6 separate regions of the Homo sapiens genome follow, and regions 1, 2, 4, 5 and 6 are each linked to region 3. Evidence: promoter capture Hi-C in 16 types of primary human blood cells and fetal thymus (Javierre and others, 2016). All regions are on one chromosome and are shown on one strand. The core of a region is centred on a gene start or on the middle of the fragment in contact, and the rest is flanking DNA. Distances in the headings are between cores, read along the strand shown.

Evidence for each region. The method cuts DNA at HindIII sites, captures the fragments that hold promoters and counts their contacts. A CHiCAGO score of 5 or more calls a contact.
Region 1: a fragment that was not itself captured here is called in contact with the fragment with the promoter of U2SURP in region 3 in 1 of 17 cell types (naive CD8 T cells); the score reaches 5.2 in naive CD8 T cells.
Region 2: a fragment that was not itself captured here is called in contact with the fragment with the promoter of U2SURP in region 3 in 1 of 17 cell types (total B cells); the score reaches 5.4 in total B cells.
Region 4: a fragment that was not itself captured here is called in contact with the fragment with the promoter of U2SURP in region 3 in 6 of 17 cell types (total B cells, naive B cells, fetal thymus and 3 more); the score reaches 16.1 in total B cells.
Region 5: a fragment that was not itself captured here is called in contact with the fragment with the promoter of U2SURP in region 3 in 1 of 17 cell types (naive CD8 T cells); the score reaches 5.2 in naive CD8 T cells.
Region 6: a contact is called between a fragment that was not itself captured here and the fragment with the promoter of U2SURP in region 3, in 1 of 17 cell types (naive B cells). The highest score is 6.2, in naive B cells.

What each region holds. Positions count from the first base shown.
Region 1 is chr3:142,461,276-142,465,999 of GRCh38, reverse strand. ATR (ATR checkpoint kinase) reads left to right here. Exons shown (of 47, transcript NM_001184.4): 41 at 760-903; 42 at 3,910-4,060. Among named protein-coding and RNA genes, the nearest start is that of XRN1, 16 kb to the right of the region's middle. The HindIII fragment of the contact is 1,709 bases long and covers 396-2,104 here.
Region 2 is chr3:143,523,584-143,527,831 of GRCh38, reverse strand. The region is part of intron 9 of SLC9A9 (solute carrier family 9 member A9); the gene reads left to right. Among named protein-coding and RNA genes, the nearest start is that of SLC9A9-AS1, 180 kb to the right of the region's middle. The HindIII fragment of the contact is 812 bases long and covers 1,720-2,531 here.
Region 3 is chr3:142,999,617-143,003,696 of GRCh38, reverse strand. It overlaps U2SURP (U2 snRNP associated SURP domain containing), which reads right to left and starts at 2,127. Exons shown (of 28, transcript NM_001080415.2): 1 at 2,024-2,127. The coding sequence starts at 2,068. PAQR9-AS1 (PAQR9 antisense RNA 1) reads right to left here. Exons shown (of 5, transcript NR_125393.1): 5 at 2,607-2,670. It overlaps LOC100289361 (a long non-coding RNA gene), which reads left to right and starts at 2,230. Exons shown (of 1, transcript NR_034032.1): 1 at 2,230-2,852. RefSeq lists enhancers at 1,766-2,415, 1,690-2,689, 3,689-4,080. The HindIII fragment of the contact is 1,896 bases long and covers 1,009-2,904 here.
Region 4 is chr3:143,666,862-143,671,294 of GRCh38, reverse strand. The region is part of intron 5 of SLC9A9 (solute carrier family 9 member A9); the gene reads left to right. Among named protein-coding and RNA genes, the nearest start is that of SLC9A9, 180 kb to the left of the region's middle. RefSeq lists an enhancer at 1,828-1,877. The HindIII fragment of the contact is 939 bases long and covers 1,517-2,455 here.
Region 5 is chr3:142,421,310-142,425,369 of GRCh38, reverse strand. It overlaps XRN1 (5'-3' exoribonuclease 1), which reads left to right. Exons shown (of 41, transcript NM_001282857.2): 5 at 38-148; 6 at 1,728-1,810; 7 at 2,448-2,535; 8 at 2,620-2,788; 9 at 3,827-3,894. Among named protein-coding and RNA genes, the nearest start is that of XRN1, 25 kb to the left of the region's middle. The HindIII fragment of the contact is 2,152 bases long and covers 227-2,378 here.
Region 6 is chr3:143,595,401-143,599,768 of GRCh38, reverse strand. The region is part of intron 6 of SLC9A9 (solute carrier family 9 member A9); the gene reads left to right. Among named protein-coding and RNA genes, the nearest start is that of SLC9A9, 250 kb to the left of the region's middle. The HindIII fragment of the contact is 1,560 bases long and covers 2,031-3,590 here.

The DNA.
Region 1 (4,724 bases), core at 1-2,500, 540 kb after region 3:
CTCATTCTGTTGCCCGGGTTGGGTGGAATACAGTGGTGCGATCTCAGCTCACTGCAACCTCTGCCTCTTAGGCTCAAGCAATTTGCTCACCTCAGCCTCCTGAGTAGCTGGGACTACAGGTGCATGTCACCATGCCCAGCTAATTTTTTAAATTTTTTGTAGATACGGGGTTTCGTCATGTTGCCCAGGCTAGTCTTGAACTCCTAGGCTCAAGCCATTCTCCTGCTCAGCCTTCCCAAGTGTTAGTGTAACAAACATGAGCCACTGTACCCAGTCTATGCTTTGTTTTTAATTTAAGCAGTATTATTCATCTTATTTACTCACTTCATTAGGTACACTTAATTTTGAAGGAGTTTGTTTTTTCAAAAATCAAACTACTTTTAATTGATAAAGCTTGAAAAACAGAGTCTCAGGCTCCGCAGAAAGATCCTGAAAAGATGTTTCAAAAATCTTTTAAACATTTTGACTGCTTTGAAGGGGGGTGTCTAAATTTGAATATGTAAGTACTTGTATTGGCGATGAAGTAATCTTTTTATGTCATAGCTATTTTTAATGGGTGAAAATGTTTCTGTTCATAGACAGTCATTCTTTTCATAGGTCATAGATAATTAAAATAAAAGATTTTTAAAATACAAATTCACTACATAATATAGCTGGTAATATTCTTTTTTTTTTTTTACATAACTCAAGGTTTATAATATATAGACATTTACACAGAAATTTTTGGCCCTAATTCATATATAACTCATCATCTTTTAGGTGGAAATTCTTGCTTCTCTTCAGAAACCAAAGAAGATTTCTTTAAAAGGCTCAGATGGAAAGTTCTACATCATGATGTGTAAGCCAAAAGATGACCTGAGAAAGGATTGTAGACTAATGGAATTCAATTCCTTGATTAATAAGGTTGGGAGATAGTTTGCTTTTATTTTATTTATTTATTTTTTATTTTAAAAAAATTTTTGACTATTATAAAACCAGATTGCTTTTATTTCAGAGTTGCTATAATTACTATCAATCTGATATAGGCATTTTAGTATACAAACAGATCACTCTTAAAAAGCAGGAATGAAATATAAAGTCTTTTTCATTTTCACTTAATTTTTTTATTGAGATAAAATGTACATACATAAAACTTAACATTTGACAGTTTTTGAAGTATATTGTTCAGTGGCATTAAGTACATTCACATTGTTGTACAACCATCACCACCATCCCTCTCCAAAACTTTTTTCATCTTCCCAAATTGGAACTCTGTGTCTATGAAACAATTAACTTCCTATTTCCCTTCTCCTCAGCCTCCAGCAGCCACCATTTACTTTGTCTCCATTAATTTAACCATTTGAGGTACCTCATATAAGTGCAGTATTTCTCCTTTTATGACTGGCTTAAATCACTTGGCATTATTCAAAGTTCATTCATTTTACAGCATGTGTTAGAATTTTCTCCCTCTTTAAGCTGAATAATAGTCTATTGTTTTCCATCCACATTTTATTTATCTATTTATCCAGTGATGGACATTTGGATGCTTCTACCTTTTGGCTATTGTGTTAATATATTTATCAAAAGATAAATAGGCTGGGTGCAGTGGCTCATACCTGTAAGCCTAACACTTTGGGAGGCCCAGGAAAGAGGACCACTTGAGGCCAAGAGTTTGAGACCAGCCTGGCCTATATAGTGAAACCCTGTCTCTACAAAAAATAAAAAAAATTAGCCAGGCATGGTGGCACATGCCTGTAGTCCCAGCTACTAAGGAGGCTGAGGCAGGAGGATTGTTTGAGCCCAGGAGTTTGAGGCTACAGTGAGCTATGATCATGCCACTGCACTCTAGCCCAGATGACAGAGCCAAGACCCTGACTCTTATAAATAAATAAATAGATAAATAAAAGGTAATCATTAGCATTTTTTCAGTTCTGTTGGTATTTGATTTCTATCTCAAAGATGATATGAGGAATCTTATTAAAGGGTTATTATAAATGTATGGTTTTATGTATTTTGAATTATTCTGTAACCAGGTATTTGTAGATGCATAGTGTATGTCTTTTTCCATTGGTAAAAATTGATCTATACTGTGGAAAGATGAAACTTTATTATTTTTCTACAAGCTTTTTTTCCCTTCTTCTCATTGCCTTCCCACATTTTAAAGTCATAGATCTTTAGCATAGAAAAGATATAGCAGTAGATGAGTTTGTTTTTTAAAAAAAGTTATAGTCTGCTTGGTTTAACCAAAAGTAATTTAAAAATTAATACCACATTAAAAAGCTATTTCAAAAGCAATATGAAAAGGAGGATTATTTTTTATTTTAACATATTATTTGGGCTGGGTGTGGTGGCTCATGCCTGTAATCCCAGCTGAGGCGGGCAGATCACTTGAGGCCAGTAGTTCGAGACCAGCCTGGCCAACATGGCAAAAACCTTTCTCTACTAAAAATACAAAAATTAGCCAGGCATGGTGGTGTACGCCAGTATTCCCAGCTACTTGGGAGGCTGAGGCATGAGAATTGGTTGAGCCTGGGAGGCGGAGGTTGCAGTGAGCCCAGATCGTGCCACTGCACTCCAGCCTGGGTGACAGAGTGAGATTCTGTCTCAACAACAACAACAAAAAAGTATTGTTTGTTAAAATGGTACCTTAATTCACTAACTACTGAACCATTAGTATGTTCTCTCCAAAGCTCCCTGAGTTTTTCTGAGTATCAGATTTACTTGAGTATCAAGTGGCCTGGCTTTAGTTTATAAATTTACATTAATCAGCTTTGTTACTTTAATTAAAGTATTTTGTTACATTTTCCCTCATAAACATGGTAAAATAAAATAGCCTGACATACTAACTTAGTTAGTAACATATTTACTAACATAGTTTTGTAAAAAACTATGTTAGTTTTGGAGGCCACACACTGATCTTTATATGAGATTCTATGGCCATATTGTTTTCCTGGTAGTTATGGAACCTATTTCCTAAAGTAAAATGTATTTTTGATCAGTGATTGTGCTTTTGAATTGAGCAGGTTACAATTACAGATGTGTGCTTACTTCATACAGGTCTAGAATTAAACATAATACTGTTTATTTCCACCTGATATATCAGGATCAATCAGATGAAATATGTAAGGCTTTCTTCTGCTAAGGGATAGCTTTAGAAATAAGGTTGTGATAAACCGCAAGAGGAGCAATACATTTTGAGGATGTCATAGAACTCATGCTCTTTTGTTTATGTATTTTAGAAATAATTAAAATTGGCCGGGCACAGTGGCTCATGCCTGTAATCCCAGCACTTTGGGAGGCCGAGGCAGGCGGATCACTAGGTCAGGAGATCGAGACCATCCTGGCTAACACGGTGAAACCCTGTCTCTACTAAAAATACAAAAAATTAGCTGGGCGTGGTGGCAGGCACCTATAGTCCCACCTACTCGGGAGGCTGAGGCAGGAGAATGGCAAGAACCCGAGAGGCAGAGTTTGCAGTGAGCCGAGATTGAGCCACTGCACTCCAGCTTGGGCGACAGAGCAAGACTCCATCTCAAAAAAAAAAAAGAAAAATTAAATAGCAGTCTCTGTGCCTAAAGACTTAATGTTTCAGTAATACCTATAAAGCAATAGAAAATAAAACAGCAGCATTTTGTCATTGTTAAATATACAACTTAAATATTTTAAATACAATATTCTTGTCACATTAATAGTGAATAATTAAAAAGAAGGACCTACCCAGGACATTTTTAATAATCTGTAAATAGATTAGAGATACTGTCCCAGTAGCTTCCTTCCTACCATTCAGAAGAATTATTCATGTATACCACATAGTAAGCCTTCAATGACATTCTTTGGTTATGAAATGAACAATCTTTAAATATATTTGATATAACATTTAGAAATTTTGAGTTCTATCTTGTTTTTAAATTTATGTGTATTTTTTAACAGTGCTTAAGAAAAGATGCAGAGTCTCGTAGAAGAGAACTTCATATTCGAACATATGCAGTTATTCCACTAAATGATGAATGTGGGATTATTGAATGGGTGAACAACACTGCTGGTTTGAGACCTATTCTGACCAAACTATATAAAGAAAAGGGTACTAAAATTAATTCTTATACATATACAGTGTGGGTACTAAGTTATATAATATGGGTATAATTGGTATTAATATATGCTAGCATATGTTTTTTGATATAAGCTATAGTGAAATTTCTAGATTTTATATACAGAAACACTTAAGTGTTTCCATCCCTTCCTTCCTTTCTTCCTTCCTTCCTTCCTTCCATTTTGATTCCTTCCCTGTCTTCATCCCAACAGGATTTGAGGTAGCTTACAAAACTATATATGAATATTTGTTTTTCACAGATATTGGTTAACAATTCTGAAACTATGTATATACAGTACTAGTCTTCAGCAAGTAAGTAAATATGTTGTATAATGAGAGCCAGTTTTCTCACTATTGGAGAAAGGAAGGAGAGAAGGCTAGAATGAAGTCTGACGTTTTAGATTGGAATAAGAGGCTCCAACTGTCCAAACCTGGGATAATTTGAGTAGCAAAATAAATAATGATTGTAAACTATTATAACCCATGGAATAAACAAATAAACATGAGTCCATACTGATATAAACAGATATTTGAGTAAATAAATAAATAGGGAAGTGGGAATAGTTCTTCCTTATGTACTAATAGAATTTCAATGAATAAATGTAGAAAGGATGATGGAAATGGGAAATCAGCAATTAGCAAACACTATAGTAAT
Region 2 (4,248 bases), core at 876-3,375, 520 kb before region 3:
CTGCTTCCTGCAAAGCAGTCTTCTCTGTGGTCCTCATAGCCCTTTGGTTGTGCCCCACTGCTGAGGCACTGAGGGAAGAAGGGTTAAACATTGGGAGGGATGTGGACCTATTGCTAAGTCTTGAAGAGTCTTGAGTCTTGAATGTGGTGCTAAGCAGTTTGGCTTTCCTTCGGTAGACAGGAAGGAACCAACCAAGATTTACAAGCAATGGCATGAGCACATCTGTGTTTTAGAAAGATAAAATATAAGATGGACTGAAGCAGGGAATCTATAGGAATATCTTCATTGTATGAGACCTGACAAATTTTGACACAATGCCACTAAGCACATACTATGTGGCACAAAGACAACTAGTCAAGTAAGTGAAAAAACAAACTCAACCTAATGAAGTTCCTTCAACCTTGTGCTACTGTTATCTAATTTTTACTCTCCTGAACCATTAGAAAATTCTAATAATAAAAAACACAAGTTGTCAAGTTTTGTCACGTGTCAATAAAACACTTTAACCATATTAGAGGTACTGTGCTTCAATATGACTGATGTGTTCAGTTAAAATGCTGAAGTTTATGAATCTTACCGTAAAGCTTGAAGAAGAACAGTGGAGATACATTACATGCTATCTGTGAAAAATGGTAAAAATAAAAAGCTAAAATGAAAATATTGAATCTTTGAGAGAGAAATGCAGGCACCGAAATGTGCTATCATCTCATCACTATTCTCTATAGGCTTGTGGATTAGACAAGTCGTATATGTCTAAAACTGCATAGAGGGTGTTTCAGAACTAGAGATGTAAAAAACTTACTTTAAAATAAGAATAGAGCTCTCCAGTAAACCTAATCATTCTCACAGGGCAGATCGGCTTTAAACGAATGTCACACTTATCTATATATAGTCCACAGTTCCCCAGGGGTGCCCAAGCCCCTTACCCCACAAGAAGCTTGATATATATTTCAACACACAGAATAACATATACTTTGCCCTAAGACTTCCTTTTATGCTTGCTAACTTCAGGATCCTCACAATGGCTGCAAACTCCTAATATTTCAAAGACTGTCTACATTAATATCTTTCAAAGCCTCAAACCCTGGCAAGGAACAAAAATTGTTTTTGAATCGGCTTCAAGAATTAATATTAGAGAATAGGAGGTTTTTCCTCTCAGCAAATTGAAGTTGAATAAATTGTTCTCTGTCTCCTTAAAATGGAATTGGTTGCTCGAGGTGAGCTCTGCTGTGAGGAGGCAGGATGCAGCAGCACTGTGAAGGATGATGGCAGGGACAATTTGGGGGACAGGAGGGGGCCTTTCTTCTCTTAAATTAGGGGCAGGTCTGTTTCTTTAAACCTGGCATAGATGCTAAAATGTAGGAAGTAAGTATATTAGCTTGGAGTTGCATTAAAAATAGCTGGAATTGCTGGGCTATTACCACCTCTTTTCTTGTGTTACCAAATGCCCACAGAGCAGCCTGCCCCTAAGCATTCCTGGGCAGCCATTCATGTCCTCATGGCTGTGACACACATGAATTGAAACTTCCATGTGCAGAGACGCAGATGGCTCCCTTCTTTGGAAGGAGAAAACAAACCCTCCAGACTTCCTTTTGGTGCTTCTAGGCATCTGCTTTGCCCACTATCTTCCCCAAACAAGAAGATGTGACTGTGGTTTGAGGGTTTAGCTTCCCCTGTGGATTTAAAAGACCTAGACATCACAGCCACTGGCCAAAAGCTTTCAATGATGGCTTTGATTTAGTTATATCTTTCTGTTTATAAAAATGACTTTACTGCATAGTATATTCATAGATGTAAAACAGAGTAATAAGACTCAAGGACAATTCTGTTGCCTAAAGGCAACCACTGTAACTGCTAATATTTTGACATTTTTTTCCTTCCAGTCTTTTGTAGCTATTTCATTTATCAAGAATAAACTGTATATGTACAATTTTGTATCCTGCACTGTCTGCTTGACAGTTATAACTAAGAATTTCCCCATTAATTTTAATTTCTCTTTTTTCTTTTGTCATTATTGGTCAAATAAATGTAACTAGATATCATTTACTTTTCTTCTCTCACAGCCTGTGGATTTTGATTATTTCATTCTTTCCTGTTTACGCATACATTTAAATCAGATTCCACAAAAACTCACTGACATTATCTAAGTGAAGGGGCATGTTTGAAAGGGACAACATGTTCCTTGGTACTCACAGACTCAGAAATATGCTGCAAGGTTGTGATGACATTTGAATGCTATTTCCAGAGTAAATGATGAAATACTTCCCCAGGAGACACATGGAGCGAAGGGCAGCTTGTGGGATGATTGGGAAGATGAGACTCATATGCTACCTCCACTTTCTAGAGAAAGTATCAGTCACTAGGCTGACAGAGCCAGATTAGAGTCTACACTTGCCACTTAGTTGCTGTGTGATCTTGAATATGTCACTTAACTTTCCTAAGCCACAGAGGCTTCATCTACAAAATGGATCAGATAGAATCTACCTCACACAGGGATATCATTTGGCATATAATCAATGCTTACAGAAGCTTTGTCCTCACTGTTCACAATGAGGTCTTTTCATAGTTGATCTGTATTAATTTAAATGATAATTTATTTTAAAAAGAGAAATAACATTTAACATAAGTCTAAAAAAGATAAGAACTAGTTCTTAAATTAACTTCATCCTCCTTTGGTTAGCATTTTTTACATAGGTAACCCATATTTTGCCTAGGCTCGCTATTTCTTTTGACATCTATATAGCATTCAATATGTTTTGTTCATTGTCTTAGTCTATTTTTCATTGCAATAACAGAATACTTGAGACTGAATAATTTATAAGGGAAAGACTTTTTTAGCTCATGATTCTAGAGGCTGGGAGGGCCAAGATCAGGCAGTCATCTTTGGCTAGCTTCTGATGTGGGCTTCATGCTATGGCATCGTAACATGGCAGAAAAGCAGAAGGAGAAATAGACATGTACAAAGAAGCAAAACAGGAGAGGCAGGCTCACTTTATTACAACGTATTCTCATGAGAACTAACCCAATCTTGAAAAATAGACATTAATCCATTTTAATCACTTCGTAAAGTCACTACCTTTCAACACTGTCTCACTGGGAACCAAGTCTCAACATAAGTTTTAGTGGGGACAAACCATATTCAAATCATAGCTTCATCTTGATAGAGATGTATACTCTTAAGAAATCTAACTAAACAAATTAGTCATAATGATAGGGGCTCTGGAAAGTCTGAATGATTTAGTGTAGATTAAATTATAGGGCCTTATTTCAAAAAAATATGCATAAGCTGATTTTAGTACTGTCAAACATTTTCAAAATGGCCATTGACCTATAAAAAAGAAAATGTAGTCACGGCACGATCTTCTCTGTTTATTAAAGCTGATCTGTTTCTCTCTCTGCATATTCTCTATTCTCATCTCTCCCTGGCCATATTCACTGACCATCTTGCCCTCAGCTTGACAGAGACAACTGAGGCCATCAGTTGGATAAGAAGTCTATTAATCTTGATCTCCCATCTCAGTTCAGCCTCTATCCCTCTCCTCTTCTATCTCAGCAGGGTCTTGGATCTCAGTGAGTTGGGTCATCCTTTCCATCCCCCACCCCCATATTTGTTTCTTCAGGCTGTTAGATCTCTCTTAGTTTTTTTTTTTTCTATCTTCAGTGTAGCATTTTTCATTGTAGATAATAGGAGCATTCTTCAAAACCCCTCTCTTCACTTGGTTTCTCTGAAACACCCAGCCCTTTCTTGATCTTCCTTCTACATTCTGGTCTTCCTTTCTCAGTCTTCTATCTGACCTGCTAAGGCATTAAAGTCTACATTCAGAAAGGACCACAGAATCCTGTTCTTTCAGCATGTCAGAAAATAACAGTACCATTAGATATCATTGTTTGACTTAGGTGGAAGAGACATTTATATTCAAATCTTTCTTCGTTTTATATAGCTTATATGGCGGAATTAAAAATAAATATATTTACCATCAGTATTTTATTACATTTTTATTGCTTACTTACCTTAGGTATAGAGAATATTCACAATGTTGTCATGATTTATTGTCTTCCAACAATTATTAATTGGGAATCCCTATGGGCTGGACATTAAGAGGATTATGGAAAAATATAATGATAATGATTACCCTTCATCGATCCTTTCATGTTTGCCAGAAAGGGAAGTATATAACAAGTTTGCACAGTAGGTATTAAATTCTCCAATTTTACATAAAATGACGTTGGGACTTCAAGTTCACAAGT
Region 3 (4,080 bases), core at 878-3,377:
AAAAAAAAAAAAAAAAAAAGAAATAAAATAAATAAAAAGCAGCTATCTGGGCAGTCATTATGACAGCTGATGACTTAGATTCCAAATCACAGGATTAAAATTTATCCTGACATTTTGAAAGCTAAGAACTTTTGATTTCCTCTAAAAACAAAAAGAGGGGAAAGAAATTAAGATTTATTATGTACTTCATAGACATTATCTCATTTGATCCTTATATCAACCATGTAAAAAAAGAATTATATCTACATTACAAATGAGGGAATTGAGGCTCCAGAGTTTAAGCAATCTGCCTTATTATCGCAAATATAATTAATTACCAAGTCAGGATTTGAACCCAAATCTCTTGTTAACAAAATTCATAATCTTCCCACTACATTATGCAGCCTCCAAATTAGTTAAGATATTCTGATTCCTTTCACAGACATCAGTAAGAAATCTGCTAATAGCATCAAGAGATTATAATCTAAGGCAATATAAACAGAAAAGATTACTGGATAATCCAATAATTTATTTATTGAGAACAGCCATACATTCAGTCATGAGAAGCACTATTTTAGAAGGAAGCCTGAACACAGACATTGAAATGTTTTCAATGTATCCAAGACCTCAAGTAGGGAATACTTAAAATATTACTTTGAGAAGAAACAAAAATTGTGAGGCTTATGCACGACTTGTTATGAACGTAGCTAGCTTTAGTAATAGCTCCCTAACGGTATGTTCTTGTCAGGAGTCTGTTGAGAAGAGTTGGTAGAGCTCGCCCCCAAAGAGAGGGAGACGAGAAAATGTACTGAGGAGGGGGAAAAAAAACTGACACAATACCTTGTAAAGAAGCCGAAACTGGCCCCTCACCAAAGTTTCTATGTAACTAAACGATGTCTGTTAAGACCATTACTAATTATGAATTAATTATTTTGGTGTACATCGTTCACCAAATGGCATAAACAGTCGGATTAGAGAAAGCAAGTAGAAAACGAGTTATGATGTTTCTCAGAACTGTAAACGCAAGCTTCTCTCCTACCGTAAATTTAACTTTCTAATAGCCGATTTACAGTCACACACTCTTTAAGATTTAACAGTCCCTAGCACCTGAAAGTGTTACACAGCTTCTTGCATCAGCATCGGAAAGTTTAACTACCTCGTGGCAGTACCAATTACTTTTAATATATTCGAGACCAGAAACCCAAACCAAAAAACGATTAAATGTCCCGCCCAAGATGGCAACTAAGAACCCAACCGTACTAATGCTTAACTACTACCACAGCTCACTGGTTTCACAATACGTGCCCAGGGTTCCCTGTAAACACAAATGCAATTTACTAATCGTATGTAGCTTACAAGTCTACGGAGCTTCTCTTTTCACTGTTTCTTCAACATAAAGAAAGAGACCACGAGTCCTCTACCCTCAAAAGTGCTTTTTACTTCCCGTTAAGGTAAAGACCACGTGTAGACTGTACATTAACCTTGGCTATGCAGCACTGCAAAGGAGAGCTGCTCCCGCCTCTGCATTTCCCACTCCGTGTCTTTGCCCTAGTGGTCCTCCCCTCACAGCTGGCGACCCTAGAGGTTATTCATTCCTTGGAGGGAAACTGAGGGAGGCCGGAAGTGAGTGAGATCCAAAACCGAGAAAAAAGCAGCAGACATTTAAGCACCGGGAAGCGATTCCCGCCTCTCTCCCAGGCGCTGTCTGGCGGCCTCAGGGCGCAGGAAGCTGAGATACAGGAGAGCGTTTTCACTGCTTCAGACCTCAATCTGAATTCCTGATTTCACTCCAATGCCAAGCGCGGGCCGAAGCACTCACGCCTCCACCCACTGGGCACGCCAGTCTCGAGCTGAATCCCGGCTGGGACTATGGGGAGATACCAGGCCTCTCAACCTGCGCACAACGGTGCGGCGGCGCCCGGGCCTACCGTCGCGACTAGAATGCAGACCCCAATCCCAATCGCCTCTCACAGGCCAGAAGCGTCTGTGGGCCCCAAACGACAGTGGTAGATCCGCTGACTTACGAAATTTTGTCAGAAATTACCTTTGAACTGGCCTTCTGAGATCCGCCTGGCGTTTTGTCCGCCATCTTGAGCTTTGCCCCTCCTTCGGCGGCGGCAGCAGCACGGGCGAGTCGAGCACCGAAAGAGCGGATCTCAGTGAAGCCCGCCAGAGGCGCCTGCAAGGCTGAATAGTCGACTGTCGAGATAGCGACCTTAGGGGCAGCCGCTCACGTGACTTCCGGTGTCAGTAATTTCCTCAGCCGCGCTCACTCCGCTAGTTTTCCTGGGAGTCACGGTGCTTGGTCGCGTTATTGGGTCCGGGAATTCAGAGAATCAGGGCCAGCTGATACTTCACCCTCTTATCCCAACGCCAACCCTTGATAGATGCGAACCAGTCGTATTTCCTTTGTGGGAAAGGAGTCGCTTTTTAAAGACGTGCACTGGCCATCTAGGGAGGAGCTTTTACTTCAACTCAAAATAGGACTGGAGCTGACTGGTGACCTGGCGCTCGATGGACGGAAACGCTGTTCTTGCCGCTTCGGCAGCTCCCATACTGGTGGGAGAGGCAAACTTGCAGTCTGCTCATCTTAAGATGGTGAATGTTGAGATAGGGTTGCTCCCGAAAAGCCGAGAAGAGGAGCCGTTTGACCCAACTTGAGGGTGATCCGATAGACACTCTTTAGGGCGTCTGCAGAGTGGGTGCGCGTGGAGACAGTCAATAAGAGAAAATCGTAAATACAGATGGTATTCTAAATCTAGCATGCATGTAAAGTTGTGTGACATTTTAAAGATTACATTTTACACTTTAGTATTGTTTTCATTTTTAATCACATAAATGGGGGAACACCATATTAAACTTTTCTGAACTTAGTACTTTTTTAAAAAGTTCTTAATCAGGGCCTAGATTCAAAGACGGAAAGCTTGCTTGAGAAGGCCATGCCCGAATCAGGCCAGGCAAGGAAAGAAAGGACATTCCAGACAGAGGGAGTAATTGAGGTAAAAGCCTGTGGCATGAATCAGTACAGCCGATCGTGCAGGTCACCTAAAGCAGTCGTTTTATTAGACCAGGTGTGGGGAGGGACGTGGTTGGACAGGGGTGCGGGTGCAGGTTCACACAGCGCCCTGAGGTCACCATCGTGCTTAGGAGTTAGAATTCTGTTCTCAGAATGAAGATCGGCCTTTAACAAGGTTGAAATGGTCAGATTTTTATTTTAAAGTATTGCTCTGAGGACTAGGGTGGGAGTGGAGGGCGTTTGTGGACCTCTCCCTAAATCATTTATTCAAAATATTTTTGAGCCCCGTTTTGTGTGTAAAAGCCTGCCCAAAGTGTTGTAGGGCTTACAGAGACAGACAAACATGCACTGTCTTCATATGATTTAAAACTTAATGAGAAATGGAGGAGACAAGGAAACCGCAAACTGACACTATGCATAATTAAATTGATGCTGCAAGGAAGGATCAATAGCTGAGGGACCTCTGAAAGAAGTAATTAATTCTGAGAGTAGGAGTGAGGAAAAGAGACGGGGCGGGGCAGGGGGGGGGGTGGTCATAGAGAAGAAAGCATTTGAACCAGCTCTGAAGAAGTAGAATTTTGTTGAATGGCGGGGGTGGGGAGCGAGGGAAGCACTTAGAACAGGATCTGACACAAGGCTGGCTCTCAAGAAAGATTAACAGACATATATGCCAGCCACTAAGGAATCAGCAGGCCAGGCCTCCTATTCTCTGTGAGGGTATGAGGGTAGAAGAACAGACAGTAAACAAGAAATGATCTGAAAGTGACAAGTGCTACACATGAAATTAGAATGACTTGCACCCTCCAACCCAATTCAATTTACTTCTACTGCTGGATTCTGTCATACTTTTTCAGTTCTGGGCCTCTTCCCTCAACCTTGCCCTGCCCTCTCATTGAAGTCTAATCCAATTCTACTCTGGGTGAAGATGTCCCTTCCTCCAGGAAGGCTTACAGTCCTCCCTCCCCACCAATCCTAAATCAGAGACCCTTCTGTTTCCAAGGAACCTATACTTTACCACTTTGAAGAGCTCAGCACACTAGATCTTAACAGGGTTTTGTTTTGTTTTGTTTGTTTTGAGACGTCTC
Region 4 (4,433 bases), core at 737-3,236, 670 kb before region 3:
CTTGCAGCCAGCTTAAAATTATTGAAGCAATGGCTGTACTTGAATCAATATGTAGAAGCAACCCAAAGCCACGGATTGGCAGCAAATTAAAAGCTCCATCTGAATACGTCTACTAGAGAGTATGTTATCTAGTGATAGCAGCCATTAACTAAATGTGTACAAATATATCATCTAATTTGATCATCACCACAGCCGATCAATTATCTCCATTCCAAGCAACAGAGGTTCTAAAAACTTAAGTGGTACATTTACAAGGCTCGTAAGTGGCAGAGATGGGAGACAAATCAGGTCCAATATTCTTTGTCCTACACCATTGCTGTTTCTCAAAATAGAACAGTGATGTGCCAATCAAGCTTTGGAAGAAAATGAAATCCAAGAGTCAAGAGTCAAGTTCCCACTTTATAATTGATTTTATTTAACAAACATTTGTTCATTGCCTGCTATGTCATAGGCACTGTAGGAGCTACTGAGGGAAGGGATAATAAACCAGACACAGGTTCTGCTCTCAGCATGCTCCCAGTCTAAAGAGGGAGGTAGATACGACAACTGGCAGTAGTCTAAAAGACAAGACAGAGGTAATCCAGGCAGCTTTGTAAACACAGAGTACCACCTGGTGGGGAGAAGGCTCTGAGAAAGCTTAAGGTCTCCTGTACCTCAAGCCAATATTTTGCCCAGATGAAGAAGATAACAGCTCAGCTGGAAGAACCATGAGCCATGTTTCTCTCCAGGGCCACAGACGACGTCACCTGCAGAACATTAGCAAGGTCTCCCTGGGCTCAGATACTCTTTGGAGTGTCCTGTCTTGGTAACCCTTAGAGTCACAGTCAAAACAAGGGCATATGCATTTGAAATTATGACAGCCCTCCCCTCATTCATGCAGAGAAGTGTTAAACTCATGATCACTTTTCTTGACATTGTTCTGCCCATTGCACATGCTGCTCTGTAACCCTGCAAAGCACACCCTTGATCCCAGCACTGCATCAGGGCTCCATCCGCATGATTTGGAAAATATACACATTCCACATCTGGAGACTACAGTTTGGAGTTTGGAGTGAGACCCATAGAAATTTAGATGTGGAAGGCCCTTAAAGACAATCTTGCTCAACATCCTCATTTTTAGATGAAGACCCTAAGACTCAGAAAGACAAAGTAAATGGACACAGAATAGGAACTGTTCTTTCCAAATACAGAAGTTCAAGGGAGTAATTTGTGAGAAAGGAAGAGAGATAGAGAAGAGTTTTTAACATTTCTCTGCTTGATAATATCTACTTTTTCTCATTTGAAGTTATTTTTAAGTGTTAAAGGAAAACAAGTAGAAACTGTCATTCCATTTTATACTGGACTGACCCACTAATAGTTTTGATGGCATGAACAATAACAATACAGTAACCACCACTGATGAAGCACTTACAATATGCCAAACATTTTGCATAAATAACTCCAATTAATTATTCTCCAAAAACCTGAAGAAGGGATTATTTTATCCCCATTTTACCAAGGAAGCTTACTTGAAGCTTAATGAGGTTAAGTAGCCTGCTCAAGATCACCAAGTTCATTTGCATAACAGCTGGGGTCTGATCAGAACACAGGTTGGTTTGACATCACAGTCAAGTTTCCAACCACTGTTTTCTACTTTAGTACAGAGTTGTAAATAGCAAGGTCTTGGCACAAAGGTCTTGCTTCAGAAGTTGGAAGCTAGTTATGGAAAGTCACCTCCAGAACAGAATTGGACACAATAATAGATAACAACCAACTATATAAATGCTTCAGGATGTTGAAAGTGGATCAAGCAAGGCTCCAGGTGTTCTGAAGATGAAATTTCGAGAACATACTGAAAACCGTTTGAAGCAGTTCAACAGCTCCATGGACAGCTGGGAAACAGCTGTGGTTGACAGACCTCTCTGGCTCACTGCTTTGGGGAACAGAATGTCTCCGTTTAAATGAAAGCAGTTTATTCTCAGTAATGCTCAAAGACGTATAGGATGGAAGTTTTGAAAGTCAGTGTCCAGCCCACACATTCCATTTATGTGTTAAAGAAGACATTGTACATTGAGACAAATTGGATTCAGTAATTCTTAGAGAGTATTTCCTTGCTGTCTGGTTCTTTTTAGGACTCAGCCAAGTTGATGAGGTCAAAACCATGGAAGAGTGAGGCAACTAGGGAGTAAAATTTAAGAAGGCACTCACTCTCTGGATTATGTAAATGCAGGATCAGCAGTTGTACAACCCTAAAAGGGAGTGCTTTCTTAAGAGAAAGGTACCTAGGATGGGAGAGCAGCCACTAGTCTCAGACTGGGATTTGGTCCTCTTGTTCCATAAAGACTCACAGGTGCCTCTTGGGCAGGATTTCTTGAAAAGCGGCCAAGAAAGGACAAGAATTGACCTTTTGTCTGGGTGCTACAGACAAGGAATTGTGTTGTTCAATTTATTATTTTGCACTGAAATGGAGAAAGCTTTTTGAAACAAGTTCTGTCAGGTCAGTGAGTGGGCAAAGAAGTTCCTGATTACGAGGGCAGAATACAGGAGAAAAGGAGCTGTTCTGATCCTCGAGGAGCTAACCACATGGTGGGTGACCTTCAGAGATTCATTCACTTGTTAATTCATTTATTCAGTAAACAGAATTAATTGCCTATTGCTTTCCAGAAACTATCAAAAGCATTGACAAATGCGCAGATGAACAAACTAATACCAGTGATAATCAACTTTTTAGCCAAAAAGTTCTATTCAAAAAAGGAAGTGAAAGTGTTTATAGGCTATTTATTGGGAGGTGGTTTTTTAAAATGCTACTTTCTTTTTTTATTTTTACTTTTTTTGTTATTATACTTTAAGTTCCAGTACATGTGCACAACGTGCAGGATTGTTAAATATGTATACATGCGCCATGTTGGTGTGCTGCACCCATTAACTCGTCATTTACATTAGGTATATCTCCTAATGCTATCCCTCCCCCCTCCCCCCACCCCACGACAGGCCCCAGGGTGTGATGTTCCCCACCCTGTGTCCAAGTGTTCTCATTGTTTAGTTCCCACCTACGAGTGAGAGCATGCGGTGTTTGGTTTTCTGTCCTTGTGATAGTTTGCTGAGAATGATGGTTTCCAGCTTCATCCATGTCCCTACAAAGGACATGAACTCATCCTTTTTTATGGCTCCATAGAATTCCATGGTGTATATGTGCCACATTTCCTTAATCTAGTCTATCATTGATGGACATTTGGGTTGGTTCCAAGTCTGCGATTGTGAATAGTGCCACAATAAACATACGTGTGCATGTGTCTTTATGGCAGCATGATTTATAATCCTTTGGGTATATACCCAGTAATGGGATTGCTGGGTCAAATGGTATTTCTGGTTCTAGATCCTTGAGGAATCGCTACATTGTCTTCCACAATGGTTGAACTAGTTTACACTCCCACCAACAGTGTAAGAGTGTTCCTATTTCTCCACATCCTCTCCGGCATCTGTTGTTTGCTGACTTTTTAATGATCGCCATAATAACTGGCATGAGATGTTCTCTCATTGTGGTTTTGATTTACATTTCTCTGATGGCCAGTGATGATGAACATTTTTTCATGTGTCTTTTGGCTGCATAAATGTCTTCTTTTGAGAAGTGTCTGTTCATATCATTCACCCACTTTTTCATGGGGTTGTTTGATTTTTTTCTTGTAAATTTGTTTAAGTTCTTTGTAGATTCTGGATATTAGCCCTTTGTCAGATGGGTAGATTGCAAAAATTTTCTCCCATTCTGTAGGTTGCCTGCTCACTCTGATGGTAGTTTCTTTTGCTGTGCAAAAGCTCTTTAGTTTAATTAGATCCCATTTGTCAATTTTGGCTTTTGTTGCCATTGCTTTTGGTGTTTTAGACATGAAGTCCTTGCCCATGCCTATGTCCTGAATGGTATTGCCTAGGTTTTCTTCGAGGGTTTTTATGGTTTTAAGTCTAACATTTAAGTCTTTAATCCATCTTGAATTAATTTTTGTATAAGGTGTAAGGAAGGGATCCAGTTTCAGCTTTCTACATATGGCTAGCCAGTTTTCCCAGCACCTTTTATTAAATAGGGAATCCTTTCCCCATTTCTTTTTTGGTCAGGTTTGTCAAAGATCAGATGGTTGTAGATGTGTGGTATTATTTCTGAGGGCTCTGTTCTGTTCCATTGGTCTATATCTCTGTTTTGGTACCAGTACCATGCTGTTTTAGTTACTGTAGCCTTGCAGTATAGTTTGAAGTCAGGTAGCATGATGCCTCCAGCTTTGTTCTTTTGGCTTAGGATTGTCTTGGCAATGCAGGCTCTTTTTTGGTTCCATATGAACTTTAAAGTAGTTTTTTCCAATTCTGTGAAGAAAGTCATTGGTAGCTTGATGGGGATGGCATTGAATCTGTAAATTACCTTGGGCAGTATGGCCATTTTCATGATATTGATGATTCCTATTCGTGAG
Region 5 (4,060 bases), core at 53-2,552, 580 kb after region 3:
ACCATATTACTGCATTTTTAAAAACAATTTTATTTAGACTCCTGGAGAAGGAGAGCATAAAATCATGGAATTTATCAGATCCGAGAAAGCAAAGCCAGATCATGATCCAAACACCAGACACTGTCTTTATGGTTTAGATGCTGACTTGGTAGGTATAATTTTTATTATTATAAACTTATGCATTGATAGTTAAATATCTAAGAGATTTCATTTTGTACAGGAAGCTTACTGGCTGTGGCAACAAATATTGGAGACACAATAATGATTGCTACTTCTATCATTACCAAATTTCTAAAAATCATTGGAAAATGAGCTTTTTAACCATAGTTTATTGACCAACAGATCTCTATAATTAGTCTACAGGTGTGACTAATCCTAGTGCTGTGAATACTTTGCCAAGGTCAGAGAAATGGGGCTGCTTTTTTACCCTCAGGCTTAATACTTGGCTTTTAATACCTCCTTATCTGAAAACTCCATGCTCCAGATACCTTTAGTAGACTTTTTGGCATTAACTTTTTATTATGGAAATTTTCAAGCATAAACAAAAATAGAAAAGGTAATATAATGAACATCGTATACCCTTCATCTAACTTAAATAATTTTAAATTTCTACCCCTAATCATCTGTCTCCTCTCCCTCCTACCCACTCCCCGCCCGATTATTAAAGCAAATCCTAAACATTTTATCATTAATTTGTATATGTTTCATAATGTTTCTCTAAAGGATTAAGGTGTTTTTTTAAGAAAAAATATATAACCACAATGCCATCATCCCACCTAAAACAGAAATTAACCTTTTCTTAATATAGAAATAACCAGTTAGTATTATCATTTCCCTGATTGCCTCATAAATGTTTCATTTTGTTTTCTTGTTTGAATCAAGATTGAAATAAACAGTATGCAAGTACATGGCGTTTGATTGATATGTGTCAACAGACTGTTGACTTACTTGGGGTATTAGAATACTGTGTGAGAGGCCGGGCAAGGTGGCTCATGCCTGTAATCCCATCTCTTTGGGAGGCCGAGGCGGCCAGATCATCTAAGGTCAGGAGTTCAAGACCAGCCTGGCCAACATGGCTAAACCCCATCTCTACTAAAAAATACAAAAATTAGCCAGGCATAGAGGCAGATACCTGTAATCCCAGCTACTCTGGAGGCTGAGGCAGGGAGAATTGCTTGAACCTGGGAGGTGGAGGTTGCAGTGAGCCAAGATCGCGCCACTGCTCCAGCCTGGGCAACAGAGCGAGACTCTGTCTCAAAAAAAAAAGATACTATGTGAGAAAATTAACTGGAAGTGCTCTTTTCCATTTTTTTTTTTCCTGAGTTTTCATATACTGGGGCTATCCTGGTCTCCAAAAGAGTCCTGCATTCTTTGGTCATAGAAAAGCTGCTGCCTCTAATTTCTAACCAGTTCCCCCACGGCAAGTAGAAATATGTGAAAACCAAGAGAAGATGTTTGGGATTTGGAGGGATAGGAAGAGGAGAGGGGACAGGGGATAGGGTAATGGTTATGAAAAGCATGTGAGCTAAGGTGAACATATTTTTCTTAGAAAAGTACACTTTATCTCATTCATTACCTACAAATAGATCATATTTTGTTATTTGTATATTTAATGTGCTAATTGTTTCTTATTCTTCCTTGTATAGAATTGTTTTTTAATTGCTTTTGTGAACCTAATATTATTAAAAATGGGAGAATAAAAACATTTCTTAATCATTTTTCAACAGATTATGCTTGGATTAACAAGTCATGAGGCACATTTTTCTCTCTTAAGAGAAGAAGTTCGATTTGGTGGCAAAAAAACACAACGGTAAATTATATAGCATATATGTTGGAAGAAAGAAATTACGCCTGGATAGTAATTCTTTAACAGATACATGTTTGTAAATACTTTATCTCATTCCGTAGGTTGCCTTTTCACTATGTTGATAGTGTCCTTTGATGCACAAACGTTTTTAATTTTGTTATAATCCAACTCATTTATTCTTCTTTTTTTAGGAGTTTTCAAGTTTTAACTTTTATGGTTAGATCTTTGATTCATTTTGAGTTAATTTTAGTGTGTAGTGTAAGGTAAGGGCCCAACTTCATTCTTTTGCATGTGGATATCCAATCTTCCTTGCATTATTTGTTGAAAAGACCAGCCTTAAATGGGCCAGATCTCAGTAGTTTCTTACTTCTACTATATGTTATTTAGGACTTCTTAATTCTGAGAATCCTTCCACAGAACACATAATGTAAACCAATTGTTTTGAACTTTAACATGTATTATCTATTATTGCAATTGTATTTTTATCTTTGTTACCCTGCAACCTTCATATAAATTGTATGCCTTAATTACAAGACCTTACTATCTTCTGATGATACTTTTGATTTAAGCTTTGTTACATTTTTAAGCTGGGACCTTAAAAATAAAATTCACTGTATCTTGATCATCTGACTAATTCCAGGGTATGTGCTCCAGAAGAAACTACATTTCACCTTCTACACTTGTCTTTAATGAGAGAGTATATTGACTATGAGTTTTCAGTATTAAAAGTAAGTATTAATAAAGCCATGGACCAAGGATTTCCATTGCAGAAATTTTCACTGGATTTGACTTTGTTCTCTATTTTACTGTAGGAAAAGATCACATTTAAATATGATATTGAAAGGATAATAGATGATTGGATTTTGATGGGGTTTCTTGTTGGTAATGATTTTATCCCTCATCTACCTCATTTACATATTAATCATGATGCACTGCCTCTTCTTTATGGAACATATGTTACCATCCTGCCAGAACTTGGGGGTAAGAAGAATTTAATAATCTCTCGAGGATACTTTAATTTAGTGCCACCTTACCCTAAAAATGTGACTTAGTTTAGTAGATTATTGCATGCACGCTAAAGCAGAAAAACATTGAGGATTTATTTTGGTCTAAGGTGCTAACCTCTGAGGTTGTCATTTTCAGTGATTCACAAGGAAAGAAAGTGAACAGAGTTAACGAACCTCAATTATTGATATCTAACTAATCTTTGCCTTTTTTTTATTATTTATTTATTTTTTGAGACGGGGTCTTGCTCTGTTGCCCAGGCTGGAGTGCAGTGGCGACAGTGCAACGTTTGCCTTCTGGATTCAAGCTATGCCCATGCCTCTGCCTCCTGAGTAGCTGGGATTACAGGCATGTGTCACCATGCCCAGCTAAGTTCTATATTTTTAGTGGAGATGGGGTTTTACCATATTGACCAGGCTGGTCTCAAACTTCGGCCTCAAGTGATCTGGCTTCCCAAAGTGCTGGGATTACAGGCATGAGCCACCACACCCGGTCTAATCTTTGCCTTTAATTCCTTAAGAAAGCCAGCATACTTTATTGGTTTTACTTTTTTCATATTTAAGCATAGAAATTCAATTTTTTTCGAATGGATATGCATCACAGTGTTTATTATGAAGCAGTGATTTTTCAATGAAAACAGAAAATTGACAAACATAGTGATGCCAAATAAAACAGACCACAGGGTAGCAGAACATCAGTCCTTAAGTTAACATATCATATTAAATGATCTAGATAGATTATAGACCATATTTAATTTAATTAATTGTTACCAAATGTTGGATTATTATGTGGAACCTGGAATTTCTTATATTTGGCTTTGGTGCTTACATGTTGCATATTATAGTAGCATAAAATTCACAGAAACTAGGGCCAGTTTGGATATAGTCCAACACTGTTTTTTCTTGATTAGTACTGTAGAACATGAACATTCAACATTTTGTAGAAAGAGTTTTGTAGAATTGTTTAGAAAAAATGTCAGCTTTTAGTACAGATTTAAATTTTTGTTTCTTTTAGGTTATATTAATGAAAGTGGGCACCTCAACTTACCTCGATTTGAGAAATACCTTGTGAAACTATCAGATGTAAGTAACTAGAAATTTTTGGTTTCCTGTCGCAGAGTAGCTGTAAATGATCAGTCACCAATTATGTAATACCAGAAGAAAGGGGTTTTATAATTCTATTCCAATTGCTTATTCAATATAAACACTTTTACCTAAATTAATTTTATTTTTATTTGCTTTCTATTTG
Region 6 (4,368 bases), core at 1,561-4,060, 600 kb before region 3:
ATTTTTGTTTGTTGTAATTATTTGAAGTTCATTACATATTTTGTTTATGTATGACATTTTAATATTTAAGGATGCCTTGAAGGAATTTGGATTCCTTATTGCTCATAAAGCTTGTCGGTGGTCAGCCAGTAGCGCCATTTGCATCTCAATAGTGCAAAGGAGAGAAATGATATTTTGCAGGATCTTGGAGAGTATCCCTGGCAAGGTAGAATCAAACACAGGCAATTGTTGTGCTCATAAAGCCCCACGGCTTCTGTGGATTATGTGTAGGTCACATCTCAACTACAATTAATAGCAACCACCACCACTAAGATTGCTGACTACTCAGATGTTAAGCACAGCCGTATTTCTTTGCAAACAGAGGCTCTCCTTATAGAAGAAAAGAACTACTTATGCTTTCCAGGAAAAGTCCTTTTATTATTAGATTCCTGAGCATTTGGCGTTTTATACTGTTTATAATTCAATGCTCTTAGTAACAACAAAATAGCTGTAACTGATTGGCAAAATATAAAGAAATTCAGAAACATAATTATGTTTTTTACGAGTTAAATAGTTATATGAGATGGAGGACTATGGACAGGAAATATAATTTCTTTTAAAATCCTTTCCCCATGAGGCACACGGTAGGCTTTCTTCACCTAACTATTCTTCTGCCACAGTCCCATCTGGTGCACTGCACCTATGTGACAGAAGAAATAGCTCTCCAGGTCAGTGAGGGGGTAACTCATTTGAATCTTGTTTAGAATGAGGGATTGAGGCGACCTGTGGGTTCTACTTACATAATTTTCAGCATCTGGCTTGGCTAGCAAATCAATGGCCTCAAAACAAAAATAGAAACAAACAAAAGATTCCTGTTCCCTGAGAAAGATAATACCATTGTTCAGGAAATGGTGAGCTTGACAGGTATCTTTTTGTCCTTATTGGTGCCTACCAGACCACACACAGAGAAAACCAAACTCCCTCCATATTAAAGGACAAGGGCAGCAGCAGGCAGCACGCTTCCTCTAACTGGAAAGTGGAGAATGATTTTAAAAACTTGTGTTGACTTGCTTGCTTGCAGCATTTTAATAACATGTAGGTAGGAGGCCACGGGACTTCAGAAAAACAAGTACTGAGCCCCATCAGCAGTGCTTGTTCTTGTAATGTTCCGGGGTAGCATGTGCGGATTTGGAGGAAGACGGTGTCTTTTTCAAAGGAGGCTATTGGAGGAAGTTATAATCACAGTGTAAATAGTGATTCACTGGTACAAAGAATCTGCCTGAGAAAACTGGGTAGAAATTGAACGCTCACTAGCGCCACTAATTTACCCTCCATTAGTGTCCTGAGCTTCAAGTGAAAGCAGGAGGCTCCTCTCAAGGCACAGCTACAGCCCCATCCTTTGGCTCTACCTGGACTTTTAGACACATCTCCTTAATTCTGGAAAAAGACAGGAGTGCCATTACATCTGGGCTTATTTCGTGATGCTTCATGGAAACAGCTGCGTTGCCTGTCTTTGTATGGATACAGTTTTTAAAAATGAAAATCGCCATGGCAACAGCTGCAGCTACTTATTACAGAGCAGTGGAAATGACGCTGGTATCGGTAGGGAAAGCTATGCTCTCAGAATAATGTGTCCCTTATACTGGATTTTACCCACTAACATTTTCATTTAAAAAAAAAAAGATAAAAGTTGAGAATGTGTTCAAAAGCAATTTACCAGGGACTGGAGAGCTCAGGGAATTGGTAAGTGGGTACAGAACCTTTTGTCTGCAGGCCCCGAATTGAGCTGTTGACAACAGCTCTCGATACTGCGATTCTAGGGAAGGCAGCGCCCACTGCTTATGTTTAACCCCACAGTGCCGAATATGCCACTCTACACAGAGTTGCATAATGGCGTTGACAGTGATGATTAGAATGTTAATTGAAGCCAGTTTTCTGCACCTTTTAGCGCCATACCTTCCTTACAGCTTTGATAAATCTCTACATTTGAGACTATAGGAACCACTTGGCTCCTGCCTGCCAGTAAGTGTAAAATAGTTTAAAAGTAAGCTTTAATTTCCTCTTAACTCTATTCTGAGATTAACAACATCTTTCATGGCTGTCAGATCCTGGGGTCCAGGTCCACACCATGCTGAAGTCCGAGGGGAGTGGGTGGATGAGCAGAAAGAACCCTCGGGGGGCCACAGGCGGGTGAATATGGTTTTATTCAGCAGCAGCTCTCATCAACAGCTTTCTTAAACTACCTCTCTCCTGAGCAGCTTTTCTTACGCTGTCCGCTCTGTCTCAGCTGCTTGAATTGGCCACCCCCACGCAAGGTTGCGAGGCCAGTTCTCCCTTGCCTTCAGGGTCAACAGCTTAACTTTCTCTCTTTGAGCACAAACAAGCCTGAGCTGTGTTTTGGCCCCCTCCTGTCTGTCTGCAAGAAGGACAGCTTTGGCTCTCTCTTTCTCTGGACGCCAGCGTGCCCACCATGTCAAGCCGTGTTGAGCCGAGCCGAGCCCCCCAAGAGCTAAGCCCCGTGCACAGAGTCAGCAGGACAGTTATACCTTTTACAGACAATAGTGGCTCCAAGCCAAGCATGAACTTACACGAACAGGCTATATAATAAGTGGAGGTGTGTGCCTGCGCACCAAACTTGCTGACTCATACTCGCCTGGATATCCGCCTCGGCCTTTTCCTTAACCAAAGCACATCCATGTATCTTACAATGGCTCATGCTATATGTTCTGGCACTTTCTTTTTACTGAACATGAAGAAGGTAAGTGAAGAGGAACATAGAAGAAAAAAAAAGATTTACCGTGACATATGTTTAAGACCTCATACAAGGTCTGGGTGTGTGGTGGCTCATACCTGTAATCCCAGCACTTTGGGAGACCAAGGCAGGAGGACTGCTTGAGCCGAGGGGTTCAAGACCAGCCTGGGCAACAAAGTGAGACCTCAATCTCTACAAAAAATAAAACTTAGCTAGGTGTGGTGATGCACACCTATGATCCCAACTACATGGGAGGATGAGGCAGGAGGATTACTTGAGCCCAGGAGGTCGAGGCTATAGTTAGCCATATTCATGCCACTGTACTCCAGCTTGGGTGACACAGCAAGATCCTGTCTTTAAAAAAAAGAAAAAGAAAAAGACTTCATACATTGTAGGGAGAAACCCTGCATTTTGAGTTTTTAATGAGTTTTTAAAATATTCTGTAAGCATGATGTCACATCATTTTAATGATCCCATAGACCATATCCTTGATAAAAACAGCCAGACAATTCGACAGGATCTATCTATGAGGAAACCGAAAAATGATATCAATATTAACTTATGGAAATAATAAAACTTCAAAAAGGCTACAGATAAAAAAGCCTTGAGTATAGCAAGAACATCCATCAAAACCAAAATCCTTCACTCACTTCCAAAGAACTCTGATACCTGATGAAATGACCCAGGTGTGTGTATCTCTCTGTGTATGAGTGTGTGTGTGTTTGTGCACGCACACATACACACACACACGTTGAGAAGAGATTAGGATTTATATTATCTGCTTTATCTCTCACAAATTTCAAATCTCTTTTAAAAAGTTATTCCAAAATTTTTTTCTTTAGCTATGGGCCCTAAAGCTTTAGAGTATGTATTTACCACCAAATTTTCATGTGATCCAGGCTTTACTAAACTATGTCGTACCCTGGTTTGTTTCCCTCTCATCACTCAGACGACATAGAGAAGCCCACGGAGAAAGTTTTTGCCCTAGGCTATAGGAAACATATTGCAAAAACCCTCCATCTCATCCTGGTCCAGAAAAATGACTGAAACATAAAAACATTCCCCCCTCAAAGCCCAGCCACTAGGGATTATTTTAATTTTTTTTACTAAGACAAAGCAGCATATTAGAATCTATTGTACAACAAGGAGTAGGTCCCATCTCCCTCCTTTCTGCTGCCAAACCTGTTCCTCATTTAAACTAACCAAGCAACTGTACACCCAACAGTGCCAGATCGGGGATTAAACACCACTTGAAGGAGTCTTCCCAGAGAAATCTTCATTGCTGTTTTATTGCCCACGTTTATTCCCATATATCCTTTGTCCTGCCAATCATGGCTAATTTTTCAGTCAGTACAAGCTTCTGCCAGTCTTGTAGTTTCTGTCCAGTGCTCTCTCTTGCTCTCACTTCCTCATTTCTATACTTCACCTACATCACCCTAATCAGTTTTTTCATAGCATTGTATCTGATCTTAATTGAGAGACTCAAGAGGAATACAACTCTAACAATCTTGTTTTCACTAAATTAAGCAAGATTGAAGGATGTATTGGTTTAAATCCTGATTCAGGAAAGAGAATGTTGAAAGTAATGCAGCAATAAAGAAGGGAGATACCATTCTCTTCATAAGAAGTCAAAGCAT